Regions from separate parts of the Homo sapiens genome. Here all the other regions are linked to region 3. The links are contacts of gene promoters, found by promoter capture Hi-C in blood cells and fetal thymus (Javierre and others, 2016). All regions are on one chromosome and are shown on one strand. Each heading gives the region's core, a stretch centred on a gene start or on the middle of the fragment in contact. The rest is flanking DNA. Distances are from core to core; before and after follow the strand shown. Region 1 overlaps DRP2 (dystrophin related protein 2). Region 2 overlaps DRP2 (dystrophin related protein 2). Region 3 holds the start of XKRX (XK related X-linked). Region 4 has its middle 9.2 kb from the start of DRP2. Region 5 overlaps TAF7L (TATA-box binding protein associated factor 7 like). Region 6 has its middle 24 kb from the start of TAF7L. Region 7 overlaps BTK (Bruton tyrosine kinase).

Evidence for each region. Contacts are between HindIII fragments. The CHiCAGO score rates a contact against its expected background, and 5 or more counts as called.
Region 1: a contact is called between a fragment that was not itself captured here and the fragment with the promoter of XKRX in region 3, in 2 of 17 cell types (total B cells and fetal thymus). The highest score is 5.2, in total B cells.
Region 2: a fragment that was not itself captured here is called in contact with the fragment with the promoter of XKRX in region 3 in 2 of 17 cell types (naive CD4 T cells and non-activated CD4 T cells); the score reaches 5.5 in naive CD4 T cells.
Region 4: a contact is called between a fragment that was not itself captured here and the fragment with the promoter of XKRX in region 3, in 8 of 17 cell types (non-activated CD4 T cells, activated CD4 T cells, endothelial precursors and 5 more). The highest score is 8.3, in non-activated CD4 T cells.
Region 5: a contact is called between a fragment that was not itself captured here and the fragment with the promoter of XKRX in region 3, in 11 of 17 cell types (fetal thymus, naive B cells, non-activated CD4 T cells and 8 more). The highest score is 10.7, in fetal thymus.
Region 6: a contact is called between a fragment that was not itself captured here and the fragment with the promoter of XKRX in region 3, in 1 of 17 cell types (total B cells). The highest score is 5.2, in total B cells.
Region 7: a contact is called between a fragment that was not itself captured here and the fragment with the promoter of XKRX in region 3, in 1 of 17 cell types (total CD4 T cells). The highest score is 5.0, in total CD4 T cells.

Annotation. Positions count from the first base shown.
Region 1 is chrX:101,258,857-101,262,853 of GRCh38, forward strand. DRP2 (dystrophin related protein 2) reads left to right here. Exons shown (of 24, transcript NM_001939.3): 23 at 1,193-1,313; 24 at 1,641-3,997. The coding sequence ends at 1,765. Among named protein-coding and RNA genes, the nearest start is that of TAF7L, 30 kb to the right of the region's middle. The HindIII fragment of the contact is 2,689 bases long and covers 1,068-3,756 here.
Region 2 is chrX:101,235,719-101,239,567 of GRCh38, forward strand. It overlaps DRP2 (dystrophin related protein 2), which reads left to right. Exons shown (of 24, transcript NM_001939.3): 4 at 142-305; 5 at 1,901-2,057; 6 at 3,263-3,383. Among named protein-coding and RNA genes, the nearest start is that of DRP2, 18 kb to the left of the region's middle. The HindIII fragment of the contact is 1,048 bases long and covers 1,936-2,983 here.
Region 3 is chrX:100,927,403-100,930,854 of GRCh38, forward strand. It overlaps XKRX (XK related X-linked), which reads right to left and starts at 1,515. Exons shown (of 3, transcript NM_212559.3): 1 at 568-1,515. The coding sequence starts at 902. RefSeq lists enhancers at 1-918, 2,112-2,161. The HindIII fragment of the contact is 22,335 bases long and covers 1-3,452 here.
Region 4 is chrX:101,208,737-101,212,522 of GRCh38, forward strand. No RefSeq gene overlaps it. Among named protein-coding and RNA genes, the nearest start is that of DRP2, 9.2 kb to the right of the region's middle. The HindIII fragment of the contact is 3,048 bases long and covers 578-3,625 here.
Region 5 is chrX:101,277,879-101,281,825 of GRCh38, forward strand. TAF7L (TATA-box binding protein associated factor 7 like) reads right to left here. Exons shown (of 13, transcript NM_001168474.2): 6 at 3,842-3,897; 7 at 1,116-1,157; 8 at 171-243. Among named protein-coding and RNA genes, the nearest start is that of TAF7L, 11 kb to the right of the region's middle. The HindIII fragment of the contact is 211 bases long and covers 1,212-1,422 here.
Region 6 is chrX:101,313,363-101,317,260 of GRCh38, forward strand. No RefSeq gene overlaps it. Among named protein-coding and RNA genes, the nearest start is that of TAF7L, 24 kb to the left of the region's middle. The HindIII fragment of the contact is 275 bases long and covers 1,283-1,557 here.
Region 7 is chrX:101,372,961-101,376,773 of GRCh38, forward strand. It overlaps BTK (Bruton tyrosine kinase), which reads right to left. Exons shown (of 19, transcript NM_000061.3): 2 at 2,184-2,354; 3 at 1,576-1,674. The coding sequence starts at 2,324. Among named protein-coding and RNA genes, the nearest start is that of BTK, 11 kb to the right of the region's middle. The HindIII fragment of the contact is 5,931 bases long and covers 1-3,813 here.

The sequences.
Region 1 (3,997 bases), core at 1,162-3,661, 330 kb after region 3:
TCCCATACTAAAAGAACAAACTTCAAAAATCATCTAAAACATTGATTTTGCTAGTATGGTATTTGCTAGAAAGAAGTGGGTTGGGACAAGTTTGGCAAGAGAAAGATTAGTGCTATCTAAAGGTGTTTCTTGTTACTTTTTGCACCTTTCATCTCTGAGAGGCAATGTGTATGCTGTGGTAAAGCTCTGGAGTCAGGCAGCTCTGGGTTTGCATGTGGCTCTGCCAATTGACTGTGGGGTGTTTGGACAGTTAGTTAACCTCTCTAAGCCCCAGTTTCCTCATCTGTACAACAGAGATGGTAACAGTACCAACTTCATAGAATTGTGGTGAACATAAAAGGAGATAATGCATTTATGGAATTTAGCATGATGCCAGGAATTTAGTACACACTTCATAAATGTTACCTATTATTGTCATTATATGTAATGGAAAATACCACTCTTCTGCCTCTTCCCCAGATCCTCCAAGGAATGGCCTCTATGGATTCCTGGAGGTTTCTAACATATGCTATGTCATGAACCAAGGATCAGGTGTGAAACTCTACATTTCCAGAGAGAATTGTGTTCTAAATAGCTTAATTATAGCTGAAATGACAGCAAGAGACCTTTAGGTACAATGCCATTCTTTATTTAATTAATTAATTAATTAATTAATTTTCAAGACAGAGTTTGGCTCTTGTTGCCCAGGCTGGAGTGTAATGGCTCGATCTCAGCTCACTGCAACCTCCGCCTCCCAGGTTCAAGCGATTCTCCTGCCTCAGCCTCCCAAGTAGCTGGGATTATAGGCATGGGCCACCATGCCCGGCTAATTTTGTATTTTTAGTGGAGACGGGGTTTCTCCATGTTGGTTAGGCTGGTCTTGAACTCCTGACCTCAGGTGATCCGCCTGCGTCAGCCTCCCAAAGTGCTGGGATTACAGGCGTGAGCCACCGCGCCCAGCCTACAATGCCATTCTTATAAGAACTGGGAGCCTTTGACACATGTTGTTAAAGGAAGAAGGTAATGGGTAATTCAATATTCTAAGAAGTTTCCTAAAAGTGGAAGCCACTGTTTTAGGTAATACCAAAAGCTTCTTAAAGTCTAAGGGTAAAGGGATGGTATGAAGTCTCTCAGGTCCCTTCTAAGCTCAGGAGTCTGTCAGAGTAAGGTCAGGAAGGCAAATCCACTTAAGTCATGCCTTACCTCTTGCTAGCCACCCACCGAATCAGATGGCAGTGGCTCTGCAGGCTCGTCCCTAGCTTCCTCTCCACAGCAGTCAGAAGGCAGTCACCCCCGGGAGAAGGGACAGACTACTCCAGATACCGAGGCTGCAGGTGAGTTCCCCTGGCCTTTCCCAGCCCCTTTCTCCATGGCTTTGTCCTGCCCTCGATTTCCTGCCCAAGGCTTTGCGGGGCTGGGACTGGTTTCTCCTCTTGGCTTTGTGCTTAGGGTCAGGGATGATTGGTTTACTGATTGATTAATTCATATGCTTATTCCACAAATAAATATACATTGAGCACAACCTATGTATTAGGCATTGTGCTGGGAAGATGCAAATGCTGCGGGCAGGTCTGCCCTTCAGCTGGCAGAATTCTATCTGACCCCTTGGCCTCATAAAGGAGTCTCTAGTTCTCTTCTCAAATCTCTGTTTTTTAACCCAGATGATGTGGGGTCAAAGAGCCAGGATGTCAGCCTGTGCTTGGAGGACATCATGGAGAAACTCCGTCATGCCTTCCCCAGTGTGCGAAGTTCTGATGTGACTGCCAACACCCTGCTGGCCTCTTGATGGAGCCAGATCCCCATCCTATAGTTCATAGTCCTCTCCTGGTTCCGGTCAAAGCCTTTCCTCAGCCTTCACCCAACCTTTCCAGTTTCCACTGGCCCCACATTCCTCAACTAGTATTATTTGGGCTCTGGGCAGCAGCAGGGATCTGGTGGTATGTGAGGTGCATGCGGGCAGTGATGGGAGAAGGGGAGGCATGATTCTTCTGACCCTAGAAATGTTCCCTTTAATCTTCAAGTTCGAGATCAGCCCTTTAAGTACCTTTCTGTTGCAGCCCAGGCAAATATCACTTGGCCATTCAGATGGGGAGCAGAGAAGCTGCCTTGCAGAGCTAAGCGGTACATGTTGGCCCCTCTTCCTTCTCCGTGGAATTATGGAAAGAGAGAAGCCTAATTACCCCAAGGTTCCATCCAGCATTATGAATCCACAGGGTTTACCCCTACTCTCTGGCGCAACTCAGGGAGGCAAAAGGGTATCCCCGAGACACCTTCCCCACCCCAAGTGCCCCTGAAAAAGTCTGGGCAGTGTGTGTTCTATTACTTCAGCTCCAGGACAGATTGCTAGCCATCCTAATGCTACCTAGGTATTGGTTTCTCCTCAAATATCTTCATTTTCTTTAGCCTCAGTCCCTGACAGACCTTCCTTAAGGGGAGAACAGTTCATTCTGGTTCTTCTACGTTATATTTGGAAGCATTAAATCCATACTTATGGGTTTAGATTTTTTTTTTGCCCCACATCTTCCTATTTCTTAAAGTCCTCAGCATTTTGAGAGACCCACTGAGTTGCGAGTTGCTCTGGAAACCTGGCTGAAGCCACCCTTTGCTCCTCTGAGTCTGTCCTCACAGACCTGAGGACACAGTGGCAGCTTGCTGAGCAAGGGAGTGTTGCTTTCCTTGGGTAAGGAAGAGGAAGCCCACCTCAAGTCTGGAGTAGTATGACTGCCATCCAACACCCTTCCAGGCTGTGACCCTTCTAGCTCTCAGGCTGAATCAGGTGAGGTGGCTGATTGTCCCCAGCTAATCATAAGGCATTTGCAACTGGCTACCGTGTGTAGTGGCCCCTCCATAGGAGCCACAGGCCACAAATCAGGAAGCTGGCCACTTTCCACCCAGACAACAACAGCAAGGCCTTCCTGTGCCTAAAATTGTTATTTCTAACTCTGGAAGGTGAATCCAATCCTCAAACTGAACTAGCTCTTCCTAGGCGACATATACCATGATCTCTTTATCCAGAAACTGTTCAGAATAGATAGTAGGGGTGGGGGAGTGGGCTTGGGAATGTTGAATAGATTCAGAGCCCACTTAGGCAGCTTTCTCCCAAGAGGAGCTTTATAACCTAGAGCCCTGCAGTTGACTTCATTTGCCTAAGTTTATATACATACATATCTATTCTACATATCTACTGTACATCAGTGCTCTCCTGGCCTCACTCACACATTAAATTCTAATACCTCTTGAAGTATTAATGTTCTGCCTTGCTCTTTGTTAGCCCCAGCCTCTGGTTGGAAAGATAGATGTATCCTGGCTGTTCCCCTAGGATATCTCTCTCCATTGATGTTTGGGGTGGGCTGTCCTCAAGACCAAAGCAACAGAAACCTGTGGTCACAGAGAATCTAACAGGAAGAGTCACTGTTCTCTTCACTCATTCCAAATCTTGTTCCCTTGAGACCTGGGCCTTGGGTGAATTTTCCTGGGCTCCCCTAAATGGTTCAGGTGCCAAAATAGAGCAAACCCAAGCTCTGCCCACCCCATGCAGAAAAGGACAAACAGGCCTTTATTAGCCTTTGCCAGCTAAGACACAGAGAACATTCTCTGGTCCCTTCCAGCTCTTATGGTCTCACTCAGGGCTAAAGAAAGCAACAGTTGCCACCACAATCAGGAGGGAGTGACGGTTGGGGTGTTGTATTATAATCCAGCAGTGGGCCAGTGGGTAGAACTGCTAGGAACCTAGTTTGATCTGCTGCAGGGGAGGCAGGGCAGTGGCTTGGGTCCAGAAGCTTAGGGTTGCCTCCTCCACCACTAAGTCACAGGTCCAGGGTGTCAGACTTCACAGCATAACATCTGCCTTAGTGTTCATGAGGTCTCTGGGCAGGAGAACTGGGTATCTGGATAGATGGTTGAGCAGGTGGTAGGCGGGCATCAATCATAGAACCTGGGCATCAGTCAGAGTGGGAGCATATTTGTAGAAGCCTAGATTGTGGGCGGGAATGTGGGACGGAGGGCTCAAGGACTTTGG
Region 2 (3,849 bases), core at 1,210-3,709, 310 kb after region 3:
CTGAACACACAGAGAATAGCATTTCTGAACCCTGGCAGCAACCCTTCTCTCCCCTTGTTCACACTTGTCTCACCCTTGGCTTGGTGCAGACCAGGGTGTGGCACAATCCAAGGATCACAGGATGTTTGTGTTTCTGTCCAGGTTAGAGCTGCTGTCACCAGCCCTGCACCTCCTCAAGATGGTGCTGGGGTTCCCTGCCTAAGCCTAAAGCTGTTGAACGGGTCTGTTGGTGCCTCTGGACCCCTGGAACCACCAGCCATGAATCTGTGTTGGAATGAAATAAAAAAGAAGTCTCACAACCTCCGGTAAGAAACAGGTGCCTTAGGGAATTGGCTTAGATGGTGTTGGGCTCCTTTTGCTGCTGCACCCTGTCCTTCTCCTCTCAGCCTGTGCATCCCCCTTTCCTTAGCCCACCCACTTCTCCCTTTCCTACACTGGCACTGGGGAAACAGCCTTGCTTTAGAAGTCAGGAGACTTGGATCTGAGCCTCAGTTTTAAGTAGTTGTGTCACCCTGAATACTTTGTTTGAGTTCTCGAAATGTTAGCTTCCATTTGTTTTTTATAAGGACAAAAAATGAGTGGAGGAATAATACCTGTTCTAACTACCTCACAGTGTGGTCATAGGAATTCAAATCAGATGTGGAAATGCTTTCTAAACTTAAAAATGCCGAGGTATAAATGAAGGGGATGATTGCTCCCTTCTCCTCTTCCTCTCATAGCTGTCCTATATCTTGGTAGGTCTCATCTGTTCACTTCCCCATCCTTTTACGTTCTATCCATAAGTTTTCAGCCCACCTATTTCTCCCCAAACTAAGGGTAGCTCTGTAAGAGCCTGAAGTCAATTTTTTTCTCAGTTGATCGGCTTTCCCTAGCTGTCTGTGCATGCCTGCCACTTTTTTTCTCCACCCTCTATCATCAAAGTCCAAGCTTCTGGCTTCTGATGGGCTTTGTTAGGGGTGAGGCATTGTGGATAAGTTGAAAGAATGCAGGCTTTGGAGTCAGGTAAACCTGAGTTCAAATCATCGCTCTATCAATGACTTAACTGTGTGACCTTTGGGAACCTACTTACCCTTTCTGGGCAATAGGAATGCCTACTTAATAAGGTTTTTGTAAGAATTAGTTGAAGCAATAATTTAGGTAAAGATCTTGGCCTAGGTGGTGGTGAGGGGGGGGCAATGAATAAAGATAGTTATTATTGTCAGCCAAGGGGAATGGCTTGATGGCTGCACATATCCTTGGCCAGCCTCCAGCTTCCTACCATGGTTCATTTGGAGGGCAGCGGGGTAGGAGGGCAGACAGAGATAATTATACAGTACAGATTTTTCTGTTTCCATATCTCAGACCTCTAGCCAATGTTCCTTTGGGTCCCAAGGACTGTTATATTCGTATGCATCCTTGCACATGTGCATGCCTATACTCAACCACCCAACTTGCCCTTTCCACTTACTGAATCCTCTCCTGCTCAGAGGGCAGTTCGGAACAGCCTCTATGGTTGAGCAGTTTGGCATGACTTGAATTCTACCAGGGCAAGAGGGGAACCAGACAGCTGTCACCTCTAATGCCCTTGTTCAGTTTCCTACCCTTCCCAGCCTGATGTTTGGCATGCAACTGAAGTAACTGAGATCCACAAAGTGACATTTTAAGCCATTGAAGTTTGGGATGCCTCCACACCCATGGTTCTACCTACTGGTTTTAGTACTGTGCTCTATGTGGAGGTGCCTTGGGACCCTCTTTGGGTGGGTAAGAGGGAGGACTCCAGGCCTCCTCCCACTTGAACCAGAAAAGCTCCTCCTGAATTTGTTTTCTATATTAAAGTTCCATATAACTTAGTTTGGAAAAAAAAATGTTTTGCCACTTAAAAAGAAGACTGAACATCACTGGTTTTACTCATTGTGTGCAGCGCTCGCCTAGAGGCCTTCTCAGACCACAGTGGAAAGCTTCAGCTCCCTCTTCAAGAGATTATTGACTGGCTCAGCCAAAAGGATGAGGAGTTGTCAGCTCAGCTGCCCCTACAGGGGGATGTGGCCCTGGTGCAACAGGAGAAGGAGACACATGCGGTAGGTTAGAATCAGAGAAGCCGTGGTGTGTAGCCTCTCAGCTGGGGAGGAATCCCTTCTTCAGTACCCTGACAGACACCCAGCTCTGCTGAGACACCTAAATGAATAGGAGGCTGTATGCAGTCCTATTAGTCTGTGGCTAGCATGCCACAGCCTAAGTCAAATATTTTCTTTCTACCCCTCCCATCAAATTCTAGCCTCCCTTAAAATACTGCCATGATTTTTAATGGGAACATGGGGAAATGAACATAACATAATGCTAAGTGAAAAAACACAGGATACAAAACTAAGTGCAAGTGGATCTCAATTGTATAAAAATGTATATAGATGAGTGTGATGTTTACATACATATAACAGCATAGGAAGGAACTATATCAAAATGTTAACAATGGTTAACTCTAGGTAATAAAATTGGAGTTCTTAATTTTCTTCATATCTTTCTGAAATTTCTAATATTTCTGTGATATATATTACTGCTGTAGTTAAAATACTTCTTAAAATGACTACAGAATGAAATATAATACAGCAATAAAATAAACTATAACCACGTGCCACAGCATGGGTGAATCTTACAGACAGACAATATGTTGAGTGAAAAAAAGCCGGATACAAAAAGAGTATATACTGTATGATTCCACTTATACAAAGTTTAAAAATAGGCAAAACTAATCAGTGATTTTACAAGTAAAAATTGTGGTCACCTTTGTGGGAGGGGAGGGAGGGGTGGGGCATGAAGGTGAGATAGTGACTAGGAGGGCCCACCTGGGATGCTGATAGAGTTCTGTTTCTTGATCTCAGTACTGGTTACATCAAGATGTACAGTTTTAGTTTGTGTATCCCGTATATATTTCAACCAAAAATTTAATTATAATTTTAATATAAATCCTGCCTATCTTGGTTTTGATTTCCATAAGACCCTTACAGGAAGCTTTCTGAGTCTTCTGGAGAACCAAGATCCCCACATTTTTCTCTATCCTGTGGCATAGACAGACAAATTTCATACTAAACAGACCTTCCAGTGTCAGAGTTATTTTTCTGTCTATCAGGAGGATTGCACGCCTTTTTGTCTAGGTAGTTCAAAGATACCTGATAATGCCAAAGAATCAAGACACACTGAGAAGAAGAAAGGTTGTCAATTGCAGGATGGAATGTAAAGTGATTGAAAAACTTTCCTTTCCTGTTGACCATATTGCTAAACTTTATAGGCCTTTATGGAAGAAGTCAAGTCTCGGGGCCCCTACATCTATTCTGTGCTGGAGTCAGCTCAGGCCTTCCTGTCCCAGCACCCATTTGAGGAGTTAGAGGAGCCTCATTCTGAGAGCAAAGGTAGGTGGTCTTCTGTTTTTCCCACTTCTTCTTGAGCCATGTACTGCTGAATGCTGAACAAACACCCTCCTGCCTTCCCCAAACTCATTTTCTTACCTGTTATCTAGGAGGATAGTTTCCCCCAGGAGTCCATCCAAAGTTGGGGGGAAGCAAGATTCCTACTGCAGGAAAAAAAGCAAAGAGAATATAGCCTGGAGCAGGGGTCAACAGTTGTGTGACCCAAAGCTGTATGTGGCTCTTTGGAGCAGCATGTGTGGCCATTTAATGAGATGTGGAAAAGAAAAACAAAAAACCACTCAAATGAATTGAACTGACTCAATGAATAAAAGTACCAGTATGTCCTTTAAAAACATAGTGCTGGCTGGGCACAGTGGCTCATGTCTGTAATTCCAGCACTTTGGGAGGCTGAGGCAAGAAGATCACTTGTGCCCAGAAATTCAAGACTAGCCTGGGCAACATAGTGAGA
Region 3 (3,452 bases), core at 265-2,764:
CTCAGGTGATCCACCCGCCTCAGCCTCCCAAAGTGCTGGGATTACAGGCATGAGCCACCACACCCGGCCTATAAAAATTTTTTTTTAATTAACCAGGCATGGTGACACATTCCTTTGGTCCCAGCTACTTGGAGGCTGAGGTGGGAGGTTCGCTTGATCCCAGGAGATCAAGGCTGCAGTGAGCCATGATCGCACCACTGCACTGTAGCCTGGGAGGCAGAGCAAGACCTTGTCTCAGAAAAAAAAAATTTTTTAAATAAAATTACACACTCTGCAGCTATGGCCTTCATGCACAGGGTGATCACGTCTTGTTGTTCCCATTCTAGTTTACACAGGCCAAATAGCATCGTTCATTGTTTTGGAACACAAGTACATACCACATGTTCATCATGGTGGCATTTAAGATTTCAGGTAAGTTTTCTGAATGGTAGACAGGGAAGCCGAGAGTGGGAGGAAATGAGAGAATTGATTAGAGCCATAGTATCCATCTTGTAAATCTTTCATCTTTCTCTGCCCAAGTCTGGGGTGGGGTTAGGGGGGTAAGGAAAAGATTTAAAAGTTGCTCACCTGATAACAGGTCCCAAGAGGATTAGATGCATAAATAATGATAGCGGTTTATCTTTGGCTAGATCTCTGTGGACAAAAATGAGGGTCAACTGGACCATAATGGATGAAAACATAAAGAAAGAAAAGGTGTATGTCATCCAGTAAGTTTCACTATTCTTTCGATAGATTCTAACCATGTACAAAGCAGATGCAGCCTCCCCACAGTACAAAAAGGTGGAGAAAAGGATGCTAAATGGAAAAGTAAATCGGGGGTTGGCTCCACGGATGACATCTTCCTCCAGAGATGAAACCGGATCCACATTTGGCTCCTCAGGAATTTCATAAACTCTGTCCATTGTCGAGGTTCTTTCTGAATGTTGTGGTCTTGTGTTCATAGCACCCTCCCACCCATCCCCAAGAGAACCCTATGGCCGCTACAGTCCAAGTATAGGTGAGGAGAGCTCTGTCAAGTCCAGTTTGGGAACAGAGATTCACTAGTTAGAGCAAGAAACCGCTCTCTTCTAGACTCAGATTCGACTTGGAGTCTGGGATGGAAAGCCCAGGAGTACCACTTTGAACTTGACTCTTGATTGGCCCCGATTCCAATCGTCAACATACTTGCTGTGAAACTTGAACAAGACAAAAGCAAGCATCCCAGCGCCCCATCCAGAGTCCAACTCCAGGGACGTGAAGAGTCATGAGAACAGCGGCTTCCGTGGCGGCTCCTTTCGCAGCCCCTCAGGCAGGGTGTAGCCGATCTGTCGGGGGCACCGACACTCAGCAGCTCCTCACAAAGAGTCCTGACCAGTGTGTCCTCTCAAGTCAGCGGAGAGCTGAGCCAGGGCAGAAGAGCGGGCGCAGAAGAAGGAGGGCAGAAGAGGGGATTCAGTTCAGTGCCTAGGTATCCTAGCTATTGCTAGGCTGTAGCTATCAGCTGGCCCGCTCACCTGCGCGCTCTCAGGACCTTTGCCGAGTCCAGGGTTCTCAGGATAGCTCCTCGGATTCCCCCAAGCCCCGCCCCCAAGACCGCCTGGCCCGGGAGTGGAGTATTGTCACCACCCTGTCTCCGAATGCAGTGTTGAGGGACAGAAGCAGAGCGCGCTCGCTCTACAGGATGAAGAAAAGGCTGGAGGGGCTGCTTCTCCTCGGAGAAACTTTGCTAGTGAGAGGCACGATGTGCGGGGCGCCAACCTGGCTGGACGGAGGTCGCCAAACTCTTGGACGCCGTCTGCTGCCAGGGTCCTGCCTGGTCTGCGATTCCAGCTGCGAGAGGTCGGCAGCTTCAAAAACTAAGGCACCGGGACGGCGGGGGCGGGCGAGATGGGCGGGACGGCTGCGGCCAAACAAAACCAGCCGGAGAGTTCCCGGGCAGGCGGCCAGCCGAGGGATGCTCGTTGTGGAGTGGCGGGACAAAAAGGGGCTTGGGCCGCTCTTCAGAAGCACTTCTGACCACCACCTCCAGACCCAGGCAGGAGCCACAGCTTTACTCCTCCCTAGGAGCAGCAGGCCCCCACTTCTACCCCGCCCTCCCTAACTAGTTAAGTGACTTGCTTCAACACTCACTCTACCCACGCTGTTAGGCAGGTGTGTCTCCCTCCGCCGCAGGGTGGAACCTCCCTAGGTCCTATTGCCCTCCAGATAATATCATGAAGGGGGAACCTGGGAGGAATAGGGTCAGAGTTTTCGGCGGAGGGAAGATAGAACAGGATAAAGGTCAAGACTCAAGGTCAGCCCACAGACACTGAAAGCTCATATTTTATGCCTTGATTTCTCCACTTGCAAAATGAGGCCAGGATAGGAGCTTTAGAATGAACTTACAGGTCTTTGGTTGAAAGGTTATGAAGAGGTGCCAAATTCTAAACAGACTGGCAAAGAGCCAAGAGAGAGCTGTTAGTAAAAACTGAGAGGGGTGTCTTAAAGAGCTTTGAAAATTACCTGTATTCTTAAGTGTAATCCTCCCCACCTCACTGAGCTTTTGTTTTCATATCTTCATTTGCATAATTCTAAACCTCAGAGAAAAAGAGAACACATCTGCCTCCTGGTAATAATATAGATGAAGGCCAGGCACAGTGGTTCACGCCTGTAATCCCAGCACTTTGGGAGGCTGAGGCAGGCAGATCACTTGAGGTCAGGAGTTCGAAACCAGCCTGGCCAACGTGGTGAAACCCCATCTCTACTAAAAATACAAAAATCAGCTGGTCGTGGTGGTGCGTGACTGTAATCCCAGCTACTCAGGAGGCTGAGGCAGGAGAAAAACTTGAACCCGGACGGCAGAGGTTGCAGTGAGCTGAGATCACGCCACTGCACTCCAGCCTGGGCAACAGAGCAAGATTACGTCTTAATAATAATAATAATAATAATAATAATAATAATAATAATGATGATTATGTAGCAGAGCCTGTGCCAATCTCCTTTTGCTGCAGGAAGTCAGTAAAACAAATCTATGTGAGGAGTGGCCAAGTAGCAGCCACCAAAATAATGGCCTCCAGGTTGTCCTGTCATTATGTTGTTTTTTGTTTTTTTAAGGTTTCCATGATTGCTGCCTCCTTTCCCCAGGGCTGATTCAGGGACAGATTCAACATCTAAAGGTTGTCACCTTCTGAAGCAGACTCCGCATCTTGGTCTGCACCTATGCTAGCAGCTGGGCTAGGAGGCTGCTCCTTTCTCCTTTCCATTTCATGAAGGAGGTCAACACTATTGAGAACAACTTCAGAGAGTGTTCTTTTTCTTATTAGTTGGGACATTCCAACTGGGACAAGGTTCTCCACCACCAGTATATGGTGCAGAACCTCTTGGGGCTGCTCTAGGTAACTGTTCACAAGGTGAATCTCAGGCAAGGTGACCAATTAATCCCATTTCACTGGGATAGGGTGAGTTGGTCCCCCTAAACATGAGAGAGTCAGCCG
Region 4 (3,786 bases), core at 852-3,351, 280 kb after region 3:
AGTGTACCGATACATGGGTTCATAGCTTGTTGATGCTTAGGGTTCATTCTGCTCAGTCTGCCATTGTCCTGCTTCTCTCACAATTAGATTGTTCACAAATGGTTGTTCACCAGCCCACTGTTTCTGAGGTTCAGCCCATTGAGAGCAGCAAACAAAAACAAAACCTTCAAATGGCAAAGGGATTTGAGAGAAAACAGCAGAGCTGATACAGGAATGGCTGATGGTGTTAACCCACTGTGTATATGTCCTTGGGATCCCTGGAAGGACCAGAAATATTTCAGTGGGTTAGTTACTGTTTAAAGACAATGGAATACCAGTCCAACGAGAGACCAGTGCAGCAAAGAATATAAACAGAGAATTTTATACAGTTCTGGCTGCAATCCTATAACAAACAGAAGTACTCACACATGGTTTTATGTCAGTTTGTGAATTGAGTTCAAGAGGCCCTAAATCTAAGTGCTGTATGTAAAATAAAAGCAATTAGTGCAGCTGTTACATTGTATTCTCCAATCTGGAATTAAGTTATGGGCAGAAACTACAGAATATTTTTCCCACTTCAATTTAATCACAGTTTGGAAGCTTATTTGTTGCTTCTTTTGTATCCCTTACAATGTTTGGCACTGCTGTGCACAGAATAGACACTAAATAAACATGAAAGCCAGGAATGAGGTTAAAGATCCCTGCTTGATAGTCATTAGTATAGTCAAAACAGAGTCTCACTGTCACTTCCCACCCTCCCTACATTGCTTTTGAGCCTTGCCCCAGCAGGAGACCCCCAAGACCCTCAAGGTAGTCCTAAATTAATCCTCTCAATAGGCTCATCAGTAGGCTTTTCTCTCTGACATCATTTCCTTTTTTTTTTTTTTTTTTGAGACAAAGTCTTGTTCTGTCACCCAGGCTGGGGTGCAGTGGCATGATCTCGGCTCACTGCAACCTCCACCCCCACCTCCCAGGTTCAAGTGATTCTCCTGCCTCAGCCTCCCAAGTAGCTGGGATCACAGGCGCGTGCCACCACGCCCGGCTAATTTTTTGTACTTTTAGTAGAGACGGGGTCTCACCATGTTGGCCAGGCTGGTCTTGAACTTCTGACCTCAGGTGATCCACCTGCCTCGGCCTCCCAAAGTGCTGAGATTACAGGCGTGAGCCACCGTGCCTGGCCACTATTTCCTTTTCTTGGGTCAGTTGAAGTACCCCAACTCACAGAGCTAATTCCAGAAATAGGGTTGCTGGGAGAAATTGGGGGTAATTTGTTAGGTTCTGGGCTTTGCACCTAAGAATCACTGCCTTAATTCTGTGCTTTATAGTGTGATGGAAAACATTGGTGCTAAGGACTGGGCTTGTTAGCAGGAATCTTTTCCTCTAGAATGGAATGCATTGATATGCAATAGTGTCCTCTTTGGCATTTATATTCTTCTGAAACTTCAGTAATGCAACAAGTCATTCTCTGGCATCCAAGTGTAATTTCTACTTTACCTCCTTGAATCACAACACTTTCTCTACTGCTCTTCTTAGCACATGCTTCTTCCCCAGAACGCTTTCAGCAATGGGCCCATGAAACTGGTGGAAGGTCCCTAAAATTTTACTCCATTATCTATTATGTATTGTTCATTGATCCCTGACAGGTTTGCTCTGATTCAGCATGAATAACAATACTAGCTAACATTTATTGAATACTTACCATGTACCAGGCAATGTGCTAGGCACTTCACATATGCATCTCATTTAATCCTCATACCTACCCTCTGGCAATTTTAGTCTTTTCATTTTACAAAGAGGGAAACTAAAATCAATAAGCAGATAGTAGCATCAGGATTTGAGCCCAGGCAATCAGCCTTCAGATCCCATGCTGGTAACTACTATGCTAGTACCACTCTTAAGTATTAAAATGAGTATGTACTCAATAAATATTTGAATAAATAAATGATTAGAGGGCTCTAATTTCCAAAGGGCTTCCCCAAGGCCTCCCTTAGGCAGGGTCACGTGTTTTTGGCCCATTGCTCTGAGGAAAGTTTAGACAGATGGTTGAGGGCAATTAGGTTGTGCTTGCATTTTCAAGCACAATTGAGTCCCACTTCAGGAAAGTAGAGAGCAGTTCAAAAGTGAAATTGCCTTCTCTGGTCTGTTGAATATGAGTTAGCTGTGCTCTGGCAGCCTGCTTACTCTTAGCTACTCTTAGGAGAAAGGCTTGGGACCTGGGGAGTAGGCATCCCAAACCCACAACCTTAATAGCTAAAGTTTTCTTGTGGGTAGAGTGAGGGTAAGATAGGGAGGACACACAGAACTTCAGTCTGGTAATATTTCCTTTTTAACTATTGGGTCACTTAATCTCTATGTACCTCATTGTCTCCATTTATGAAGTGGGAGCAATCTCCCTGGCTTGCTTTCTATTTCTGAAGCAAAATACTGAATCAAACTGCTTCTAAGACTAGAAAGGCTCTCCGAAGGTTTAGCTGATTGTAACCATTATCTCCAGAAGCTGGGGTGTTCTGATACAAAGAAGTGTAATGGGAATGATTCAGGTAAAATAGTAGATTGGAGAGGGTACAATGTGGAACTGCTGGAGTAGGATTTGCTTATTATTGGTAAGATGGTTGCAATGAGAGATTATTATTTATAACACACCATAGAATTACAAAGCACTTTACAGCTATTCTTCAGTACAGTCCTACAAATTGATATAAGACTAAAAATAATGAGGCCAGGCCTGAAAGGTTACTCAGTGGGTAGTAAGTATGAATAGTCACTGAAATGAGAAAATGACAAATATACCTCTCAGGTCCAGCACAGTATATCTCCAAGAGCCCTATTCCCTGCTCTTATAGCTGTTTCCAAGAAGACTCTGGCTTAATGTGGTAGCTGCATAGGGGTAAGGATCTAGGCTGCTTTGGTGATGTTTGGGGCTGCTTAGCACTGTACTTTGGAAGAATTGCATGCCTTAACACCCCTCTGCACTTCCACTGCCTTATTATAGCACTTTTCTCATTCCACTTTGTTTAATAGTTGTTTGAGTAGGTGTCTGCCTCCCCTATTAGACAGAGATTGTGAGTTAGTCATTTTTGAATCTTGCTTTGGTGTTGGAAATGTTTTACACTGAGCAGGCCCTCCCTTATGTGCTTTCCAGCCCCAGGAACCTAATTAATTTGACTGATCCCCGTCCTTGATGGCCTAATAATAGGTAGATTAAGCACATGCTTAGGAAACCAGCTAAATAGAGGCATTAAAGATTTTTTTTAAAGATTTGAGTCCACACAATGAGATACTACTTTATAACTTCTAGGATGGCTATACTAAAAAAGACAAGTATTGGCAAGAATATGCAGAGATGGGAACCCTTGTACATTGCTCGTGGAGATGCCACTTTGATGAACGGTCTGGCAGTTCCTCAAAAAGTTAAATGCAGAGTTATCATATAACACAGCAATTCCATTCCTAGGTATGTACTTAAAAGAATTGAAAACATATATTCATACAATAAACTTGCACACAAATGTTCATAGCAATAATATTCATAATAGCCAAAGGGTGGAAACACCTAAATGTCCATCAATTGATGGATGGATAAATAAAATGTGGTATATTTATACAATGGAATATTATTCAGCCATACATAGGAATGATGTAGTGAAGCTTGATGATAATATGCTACGTGAAAGAATCCAGACACAAAAGACCACATGTTGTTTGATGTCATTTGTGTAGAATGGCCAGAATAGGAAACTCTATAGAGACAGAAGGTAGATTAGTGGCTGCCTAGGCCTGAGAAGGGACTGGGGGGATATTGGGGGC
Region 5 (3,947 bases), core at 67-2,566, 350 kb after region 3:
ACAATAAATAATTTTCTATTACATGAATTTACTGTTCCTAGCTAGAACATTTCAAAGAATCTTAAGTTCCACACATCAAGACTGGCACACAAACACCAGAGGTGAGGCTTCGTCAGCATGTACAAATGGGGCAGAACAGACTATGCAGAAAATATTTGTATAAAGGATACGGGTACTTACGGCTTCAGCATCCGAACGCAGCAGTCTCTTTACTTCATTTTCCACGTCTGGAGATTCAATGTACTGAAGCAAAGTTGGGGATTAGAGGGGGATACCAATACTGTCATTTAACACCCTGTGTGTTGCAGGAGTGCCCTCCTACGTACCAACGAATTCAAATGTTAGGCCTCTTTAAATTCTGATCCAACCAAATTTCTACTTTAAGTAGTGCTATTTATAAAGGAATCTTTAGCCAGGGTCTAGAATTTTGTACAGTAAACTTACTTTTTTCCTAATTAAACAAATTACTTGAGACATTTAATCTTTTCAATCTGCAGCTCTATGGTAAAGCCCTCTCTCAGAGGTGCAACCCTTAGGTCTCAGTTATAAATTATTTCTCCTGATTTATATTGGCAAAGAACTATAATTCCTTATTAGTTATTTAGAAATAATTTGGTTTAAAGATCCAAATTCCCAGATTTCACTTCCCCACATCTTTATTATTAGAGACGTTCCTATAAAAACTGGATCTTAGCTGCATGTTCTCCCTTGAATCCAGTTTTACATAATTATCTCCACAGCAACCAATTTGTTGTGCCACAAATAGAAATTAGGATTTTGATGGGGAATAAGCAATTGCAAACAACTGCTGTTAAAAGTGAGCTCTGGCTCCCAAGGAATGGCTTTTGAAATAAATATCAGAATAAAAAGAGCAGATTAGAATACACGGGGTCACTGGCCAAATTGTATCTTTTCCTCTAGCAGTTATCAAACATCAAACAATGAATTCATTTTTTAGTGAATCAAACCCAGTGTATGTGTTTAGGATGAGGGTTAGAGGTGAGAAGGAAGGCTCAAAAGTAGCTTCTGTGGTTTATTTGATTCATTTGAAACTAATGAGCTATTAAATAAAACACATTAAGGGTAAAAATGAAGTTATATTATGATTGCTCTACCTCAGTAAAGCTGCTTTTTTCCATTTCTTTGACATCAGGGACCTATGAAATAAAACACAATAAACAAGTTATATTATGATACCTATATTTCAGTAAAGCTTAAAGAGCTCTACAACTATCCTTAACTTAGTTTTACATTTAGTAGGCACTCAATAAATGTTGATTTACAGAGTATAAAAGCCAAGGCAACTGTGTTCATGGATTGGAAGACTCAATATAGTAAAAATGTCAGTTCTCCCCAAATTGATCTACAAGTTTAATGTAATTCCTGCCAAAATTCTAGCAAGGTTTTCTATAGCTATAGACAAGCTTATTCTAAAATTTATATTAAAAGATACAGGCTTTTGGCCAGGCGTGGTGGCTCATGCCTGTAATCTCAGCACTTTGGGAGGCCAAGGCGGGCGGATCACGTGAGGTCAGGAGTTCGAGACCAGCCTGGCCAACATGGTGAAACCCGTCTCTACTAAAAATACAAAAATTAGCCGGGCATGGTGGCCCATGCCTGTAATCCTGGCTACTTGGGAGGCTGAGGCATGAGAGTCGCTTGAACCCGGGAGGCAGAGACTGCAGTGAGCAGAGATCGTGCCATTGCACTCCAGCCTGGGCAACAGAGCGAGACTCCATCTCAAAAAATAAATAAATAAATAAATAAATAAAGATATGGACTCTAGAATGGCTAAACAATATTGACAAAGAAAAGTAAAGTCAGAGCAATCAGCCTTCTAATTTCAGGACCAATTATATAGCGACACTGTGATATTGGTGGAGGGATTGACAGATGGATCAGTGGAGGAGAATGGAGAACCCAGAAACAGACCCATAAAACCAAGCCCAACTGATATTTCACAAAGGTGCAAAAGCAATACAACAGAGGAAGAATAGCCTTTTCAACAAATAGTGCGAGAGCAATTAGACATCCTTTGGCAAGAAAAGCAAAAACAAACAAACAAACAAAAACAAAACAACAACAACAACAAAAAAAAAACCTTGAACTAAACCTCATAGCTTTTACAAAAATTAAGTCGAAAATGGGCATCAGGCTTAAAAAGATGTAAAAAAAAAAAAAAAGCAGGAGAAAATCTTCAGGATCTGGGCTAGGCAAAGAGTTCTTAGATTTACTATAAAAAGCAAGATCGTTTTCAAAAAAATCAATATATTGTACTTCATCAAAACTAAAAACTTTTGCTCTCTGAAAGACCCTACGAAGAGGATGGAAAGACAAGCTACAGACTGGGAGAATATATTTGCAAACTACATATCTGATAAAACACTGGTAGTATTTAAAATATAAAAAGAACTCTCAAAATTCAATAATAAAAAATCAATTTAGAAAATAGGCAAAAGGCATGAGCAGACATTTCGCTGAAGTGGAATAGATGGCACATGAGATGCTCAACCCCGTTAACCATCAGGGAAATGTAAATTAATACTACAATGGGATCACTATGCACCTATCAGAATGGCTAAAATGAAAAATAGTGACAACACCTAATGCTGGTGAGGAGGTGGAGAAACTGGATCATTCATACATTATTGGCAGGAATATAAAATGGTACAGTCACTCTGGAAAACAGGTCATTTCTTACAAAACTAAACATGTGACTACCATATGACCCAGCAATTATACTCCTGGACATTTATTCCAAAGAAATGAATACTTATATTCACACAAAAACCTGTTCACAGCTTTATTTATAATAGTCAAAACCTGTAAACAACCCAGATGTCCTTCAAAGGGAGAACAGTTATGTAATGTGGTACATTCATACCATGGAATACTACTCAGCAATAAAAAATAAACTATTGATGCTACAAAAACTTATATGGATCTTAAGTGAATTATGCTGAATGAAAAAATAAGCTAGTCTCTGATGTTATATACTATATAATTCCATTAATATTAAATTTTTGAAATGACAAAATTACAGAGATAGAGATCAGATTAGTGATTACCAAGTGTCAGAGACTGGGGTGTGAGGTGGAAGGGAAGTGGGCATGGTTATATAAAAGCAAAATGAGGGATCCTTGTGATGAAACTGTTTTGTATTTTGACTGTGTAGACAGATACATGAACTTACACATGGGATAAAACTGCATAGAACTAAACACATGCACAAAAATACACGAGTACAAGTAAAACTGGAGAAATTGGAATAAGATTGCAGAATTCTAATCATGTCAATTACCTGTTTGTGGTATTGTACTATAGTTTTGCAAAATGGGGAAAATGGCGAAAGGGTACACGATATCTCTCTTTTATTTCTTACAACTGTATATGAATTTACAATTATTTCAAAATAACATGTTTAATTTTAAACAAAAGAAGAAGCCAAGCCACAATACTCCTGTAGTTTGCCCAAGATTCTACAAGCCTGAAATAACATTAGGAATATAACCACAATTCCCAATTTTCAGGTTCTGGATGGGTTCACTTTAAAACTAGATCTTGCAATAGAAAACTGAAAGCATTAACAGAAGTTTCAAATGTATGATTCTTCCAGACCCCAAATGACTAGCCTATAACCTCAAGGATCAGGTCTTTTTATTCACTGCTATATTCCCTACTGCTAGCATACAGTGCCTGGCATTTAGTTCACATTCAATAAATGTTTATTGAACATATAAATGAATTAAAAATTAATTCCCAACTGACTTTTTCTCTTTTCTTCTGGCCCATGATCCTCTTCTAATCGGCCCGGCAGACACACAAATAGCATGTAACTAACCTTTTTTTGTGTTTTCCGGAACCTTTTCTTTCTGACATTCTTAAGTGGTGGCGTAACTAAAATAAATACAACACAGTGAAACGTTATATGACTGATGGTAGTCACA
Region 6 (3,898 bases), core at 170-2,669, 390 kb after region 3:
AAATTTTATTGAATATATTCTGGAAAAGGAGAAACTCTGAATGCTTGTTGACTTATTCTAAACCTGACCGTGATCCATGAAAAAAAAAAGTTTTTAAAATATTGTTCTGCTGGCTTCTCAACACAAACTTATTTTTAAATTAGCATTGGGTTAAATGTAATTCCAATAGGTTGTAAAGTGAAGAACACTTGCTGAATATGAATCTAGCCCACCAGAATCATTTCTTCAGGTATCCATCACCACTGTGAACTAAAGAAAGGGATAAAAAGTAGTAATCTATCAATTCTAGAACACTGTAATATAATAAAGTAAAACTACAACTATTTATATTTTTCTTCAGGGGAAAAGATAATTTAAAAATTTAACTGTTCTTCATAAGCTGTAGTAAGGAGCTTGAATTCTTTCTTATTACATTCATAAATCTTCTTTTATTCCACTTATAAAACAAGATATTTACATGTCTTTTTATAAAATTTAAATGCATGTTGACTATAAAACGTTTAAAAAAATACAGAGGCCAGGTGCGGTGGCTCACGCCTGTAATCCCAACACTTTGAGAGGCCGAGGAGGGCAGATCACGAGGTCAGGAGTTCGAGACCAGCCTGGCCAACATGGTGAAACCCGTCTCTACTAAAAATACAAAAATTAGCCAGCCATGGTGGTGCATACCTGTAATCCCAGCTACTCAGGAAGCTGAGGCAGGAGAATCGCTTGAGTCCGGGAGGCAGAGGTTGCAGTGAGCCAAGATCACGCCATTGCACTCCAGCCTGGGCAACAGAGCAAGACTCCATCTCAAAAAAAAAAATACAGAAAAGTGCAAGGAAGAAAATGTGCTAGTGGGAAAAAAAGAAAGCAAGAGGAAGAGAATAAAAGCTAAATAATCAACCTTTTAAAAATTTAGACATTGTTGGCTGGGCACAGTGGCTCACACCTGTAATCCCAGCACTTTGGGAGACCAAGACGGGTGGATCATTTGAGGTCAGGAGTTCAAAACCAGCCTGGCCAACATGGTGAAATCCCGTCTCTACTAAAAATACAAAATTAGCCGGGTGTGGTGGTGCATGTCTGTAATCCCAGCTACTCGGGAGGCTGAGGCAGGAGAATTGCTTGAACCCAGGAGGCGGAGGTTGCAGTGAGTCGAGATTGAGCCATTGCACTCCAGCATGGGCAACAAGAGTGAAACTCCGTCTCAAAAAAAAAAAAAAAAATTTAGACATTGTTGTACCTGGTTTAATGGAGCTACTGCTTATGGTTTTAATAAGGCCCATCTCCTGTAAGGTAAAGCTTCTGCCAATGAAATTGCTGGATCTGAGAGTTATGACTAGACCATTGTAGAAGCCAGAGTGGTCAGACATTGTCTTCTTCCAGCAATGACTCCCTGTTGGAGTAAAATACTGAAATGGACAATTTTCCCTAATAAAGATACCTGAATTTAAGTAACATTAGCAAAAATGACAGAGTAGGGAACTCCAAAAGTCTATCCCTTCACAAAAGCGGAAAATAAACCAGCAAACAGTGTCAAAATCAACTTTATCAGAGCTCTGGAAACTAATCAAAAGCTTATGACAACTATACTTGTTCATGATGTCATGGAAAATGGCAAAACAGGGAACCCCAGGGCTCCATCTCTCCAAAATCAAACAACAAGCTGGCAAAGACTGTCAATTTTTGCAGAACTCTGGAATTTAGTCGAAAACTTACAACAAGCAGGGGAAAGCTTAATGAAGAAAGAAGCAGCTACATTGCAGTAAAAGAATGCTCTGGTGTTTTTAATCACCTGCTTGCCAACTCCCTGCTTTAGATCAGCAGCAGCCATGAAGGTAGCATCCCACACTCCTGGTATAACTTTATAGTGCTGGAGGGAGCAATGCAGACCTTATTTCCAAATGTGATTTTATGCTTCAACCTGACTAGTGGTTCTCTCAAGAACTGGTGCAAGGACCTGCCTCATTTCACCCAACTTGGAGCATTCTCAGAAGCAGGTAGCTTTTGCTGAAAGTATTTGAAGGCACAATATTGTCTGGAGCAGCCTGGGGAAAGAGATAACAGTCAGAACAAATAATAGACTGAAGGAAGGAAGAAGATCGGAAAGGAAATATGTGGGGAAATAAGGGATTTTAACAGCTCCTGTGTATACCAGAGAGTTGAAAAAGGCCACATGCACGCCAGGCGCTCATGCTCAGAAACATGCTCAGAAAAGGGCCGAGAAGAACCTAAGTTTTCACCTCTGGCTGACGTCAGGATCCATGTAAGCAGGAACTGAACGCCAAGGGAGAGCTGTAAACGAACTGGCTAAGCATTGAGTCCCCCAGTACAAAACTAGTCTGAAAACGGAGTAATTTTTTCTTCCTCTTTTTTCTCTTTTTGCTTTCTTTTTTTCATTTTCATTATTTTGTGTATGTGCGTACATAGTAGATGTATATGTTTATGGGGTACGTGAGATAGTTTTGATGAGGCATGTAGTGCATAATAATCCCATCAGGGTAAATAGAGTACCCATCACCTCAAGCATTTATCCTTTGTGTTACAAACAATCCAATTATACTCTTTCAGTTATTTTTAAATGTACAATTAAATTATTGTTGACTATAGTCACCCTGTTATGCTATCAAATACTAGGTCTTATTCATTCTTTCTATTTTTTGTACTCAGTAACCATCCCCATTTCCCCTCCACTCCCCTACCACCCCGTTCCCAGCCTCTGGTGGCCATCCTTCTACTCTGTATCTCCATGAGTTCAATTGTTTTAATTTTTAGCTCCCGCAAATAAGTGAAAACATGTGCAGTTTGTCTTTCTGTGCCTGGCTTATTTCACTTAACATAATCACCTCCAGGTACATCTTTGTTGTTGTAAATGACAAGATCTCACTCTTTTTATGGCTGGATAGTAGTCCATTGTGTATATGTACCAAATTTTATTTATCTATTCATCTGCTGATTAACATTTAGGTTGCTTCCAAATCTTGGCTATTGTGAAATAATGCTGCAGTAAACATGGGAATGCAGATATATGTTCAATATACTGATTTTCTTTCTTTAGAAGTGGGATTGCTGGATCGTATAGTAGCTCTATTTTTAGTTTTTTGAGGAAATCTCCCAACTGTTGTCCATAGTGGTTGTACTAATTTACATTCCCACCGACAGTGTACAAGGGTTCCCTTTTCGCCACATCCTCACCAGCATTTGTTATTGCCTGTCTTTTGTATAAAAGCCAGTTTAACTGGGGTAAGATGGTATCTCATTATGGTTCTTTAGGGAGTTTTCTTTTCTTTCTTTCTTTCTTTCTTTCTTTCTTTCTTTCTTTCTTTCTTTAGGGAGTTTTCTTTTCCTTCCTTCCTTCCTTCCTTCCTTCCTTCCTTCCTTCCTTCCTTCCTTCCTTCCTTCCTTCCTTCCTTTCTTTCTTTCTTTCTTTCTTTCTTTCTTTCTTTCTTTCTTTCTTTCTCTTTCTTTTTTAGACGAAGTCTTGCTCTGTGCCCCAGGCTGGAGTGCAATGGCACAATCTCGGCTCACTGCAACCTCCGCCTCCCGGGTTCAAGTGTTTCTCCTGTCTCAGCCTCCCGAGTAGCTGGGCTTACAGGTATGTGTCACCACACCCGGCTAGTTTTTTGTATTTTTAGTAGAGACGAAGTTCACCATGTTGGCCAGGCTGGTCTCGAACTCCTGACCTCAAGTGAACCACCCGCCTCAGCCTCCCAAAGTGCTAGGATTACAGGCGTGAGCCACTGCACCTGGCTGGTATCTCAATATAGTTTTGATTTGCATTTCTCTGATGATCAATGACCTTTTCATAAACCTGTTTGCCATTGGTATGTCTTCTTGTGATAAACGTCTATTCAGATATTTGGCCCATTTTTAATTGGATTATTAGTTTTTTTTTTCTTATAGAGTTGTTTGAACT
Region 7 (3,813 bases), core at 875-3,374, 450 kb after region 3:
GTAGTCCCAGCTACTCAGGAGGCTGGGGCAGGAGAATCACTTGAACCGGAGGCAGAGGTTACAGTGAGCGGAGATCGCACCACTGCACTCCAGCCTGGGCGACACAGCGAGACTCCATCTCAGAAAATAATAATAATAATAAAAATAACAAAATATCTAGTGTTGGAAAAAATGTACAGAAACAGGCACTCTCATACATAGCTTGTAGGTGTGTATGAAATTCAATTCCACTTCTAGAAAATGAAATAAAAAGATAAAAATAACCAAAGTGCACAGATTTTCTTAAAGAGAAGAACAAAATTTTACTTCTAGGAAATTATCATAAGGAAAAGAATAAAAAAAGTACAGAAAGATGTATGCAAGATTGTTCCTCTCAACATGGTTTATACTATCAAGTACTTGTAGACAAACCGAATGTGTAATAATGGGAGATTAAACAAATTACAATACATCCATAATAGGGAATACCATACAGTCATTAAAATCATGTTATTAAAGAATATCTATTGTCATGGGGAAAAGTTTCCCACATATCGTTACATTGAAAAAGTACGTTACAAAGCAAGATGTGTACTATGAGTCTATGTTTTAAATATATGACATATATATAAGTGTATGCGTATGTGTTCTCAGTGAAGAAAAACATCTGTAAGTCTATGTACACCAATATGTTGATAGTTGTTTTAACTGGGTAACAGGATTATGCATCATTTTAATCTTTTTGTATTTTTTATATATTCCAGAGTTTCTGTAATAAATACGCAATTCTCCTGTGATCAAGAAAATACTGAAAATGGTCAGACCCAGTGGGTGGCTCACGCCTGTAATCTTTGCACTTTGGGAGGCCGAGACAGGCGGATCACTTGAGGCCAGGAGTTCAAGACCAGCCTGGCCAACATGGTGAAACCCCGTCTCTACTAAAAAAATACGAAAAATTAGCCAGGCATGGTGGTGCACACCTGTAATCCCAGCTACTTGGGAGGCTGAGGCATGAGAATTGCTTGAACCCGGGAGGTGAAGGTTGCAGTGAGCCAAGATGGCACCAGTGCATTCCAGCCTGGGCAACAGAGCGAGACTCTGTCTAAAAAAAGAAAAAAAAAAGAAAAAAAGAAAATACTGAAATTGATATATATTTTTTAAAAGTGAACTCAAAAATCAGTAGGTTTTATGTCTCTCGCTCCGGAAAGTGAGAAGAGAATAAATAGTAAGGTATTAAAGGATATCATGTGACTCAGAGCCCTAGGATTATGACATTCAGACTTACTTAAGCCTCTAAATCTGATCCTGAGAGAACTGAGGGAATAAAATCAATGATCTCTGACCAGTTTGAAAACTAGATATAGCATCATTTAAAAGTTTGTGTTAACAAATTTTCCATGTTTAGTGAGATGTTCTGAATATGAAGGAAAGAAGCTAAGATTCTTTATAACCAATATGGTAGAGTGAAGAATTTTTAAAGGAAACTTGACCGTGTTCCACGTTGCACAGCATCACCAGTCTATTTACAGAGAATTTAAATGTTGCAAATTTCTTCAAATCTGCTGTTCCCCATCTCAGACATTGGTCTCTTCTTACCGGAATCTGTCTTTCTGGAGGAGGATTTTTTTCAGGAACCACTGTTTCAACACAAGTGATCTTCTCAACATCTATTGAACCCTTCTTACTGCCTCTTCTCTGAGAAGTAGAATGAGGAAGAAAATGGAGAAAGATTAAGAGGGATTAAGCAACCAGATGATTAGATTTTGTTATCTAATCATTCAACAAAGTGAGGTGGCACCAGGACCTGTCATGTGGGGGAAGAAAAAAAAATCCTTCCAGATCTATAAATCTATGACTACCAAATGGAGGGCAAATACCATGGAAGAGTGAATGACTGTATGTACCTTCCTCATAGGAAGTAAGGAAGCAATTTCCAACTCTTCGATTTCATTTTCAACAATCATTTAATGAGTGCTCATCAATTCCAAGATTCCATGGTAATATTTTCCTTGTGGCTTCTTAGGACCTTTGACTTTCCGGCTTTAGCTAGTTATAGGCTAGGAAATATTTTGCTGAATTTGAAAGAACTTAGGTCCATTCTACTCCCCTCCTCCTACCAACGAAAATTTACCTCTTCCCCAAGAAAGATCTAAGGCCAAGTCCTTGATATCTTGAAACTCAGTTTTCATAGTCGAGAAACTTACCCCACGTTCAAAGTCATACTCATAGTAGGAGAGTTTGTGCACGGTCAAGAGAAACAGGCGCTTCTTGAAGTTTAGAGGTGATGTTTTCTTTTTCTGTTGGGATCGCTTCAGAAAGATGCTCTCCAGAATCACTGCGGCCATAGCTTCTTCTTTCTGGAGTTCACCTGTGTGCTGTTGATAATGAAAGTTCCTGAGGACCCAGGACATTAATCCTCATCCCTCTTGGTTCCCCCTCAGCCTAGCTACCTAGTTTCAAATGGAACAAAAATGTGCACAGCTCACAAAATAATTTCTTCCTACCAACCTCCTCCCACAGCCCCCAGCTCTGTCAGGTTTCAGGTATAATGGATGCACACTGAATTGGGGGGGGATTGGTTCGATGTTGTGAGCTCATATAAACTGAGTTCTTGTATAAGGCAATGGAATGCTCTAGATGTTAAATGGCACGCACCTGTGTGCTTGGTAAGGTGTAGAGGTAGCTTTACACTATTCACCTTTATATGATATGTGTAGAATCTGTGAAAAGCAAAAGTATCTGTGCAGCTGTTGATCTTGATATACCCAGAAGGGATAATGCAGGTGCCAGAACTCCACTGAGGCAGATATTGGACTTTCAGTTCCCAATTTCCTAGACGGTGAATATAATTTTTCAAACATTGTCCCACTGGGGTCTGTAACCAAGGGAACTAATAAGGATATGGAGGCTGCACCTGCAGTTCTGGACACACACTAACTGCTGCCCAACTGATTTTGCCCACACCCACTGACTGAGCTACAAAGGATAGAAGATTTGTTCTAAAGTTGAAAACATAATTTTTTTTGGTGGGTTTTGGTGGGGGGGGGGTAGTTGTTGTTTTCTGACCTTTTCCCCATTTAGCTTAAATTAGTTCTTTTAGACAGCATCATGCAAAAGTGATGCAACTGTCTTACTGATATAGATGCCACCTCTGTTCATTTATGAAACACAACTTATTTAGCCTCCCCAAACCTACAATACTCCAGAAGGATTCAATTTAGGTAACTGAAACACAGAAAGACAAATAAAGTTCCCAAAGTCACCACTGGCTTTTTTATTCACACCAAGCAACACTTCATATCAGTTATTCACTTACAGTTTATGCACAGTGTAATATTATTACTAATTCCGAACTTTCATTGGAAAGATAAAGTGAAAACAAATGCTGTCATAAAAATAGAACACTAGGCCGGCGCGGTGGCTCACATCTGTAATCCCAGCACTTTGGGAGGCCGAGGCTGGCGGATCACCTGAGGTCAACAGTTCAAGACCAACCTGGCCAACATGGCAAAACCCCGTCTCTACTAAAAATACAAAAATAGCCGGGCGTAGTGGTGGATGCCTGTAATCCCAGCTACTCGGGAGGCTGAGGCAGGAGAATCGCTTGAACCCAGGAGGCGGAGGTTGCAGTGAGCCGAGATTGTGCCATTATACTCCAGTCGGGGCAACAAGAGCGAAACTCCGTCTCAAAAAACAAAATCAAAAACAACAACAAAAAAACACTAAGTAAGTAACGAAAAAACCACCAGCCCTCCATTCAAGTTTAATTAGTGGTAGGGATTTTTCCTCTGGTGGGGGGGTGGGGGTGGGAATGTGTCTATTTTTTAAGTAAAC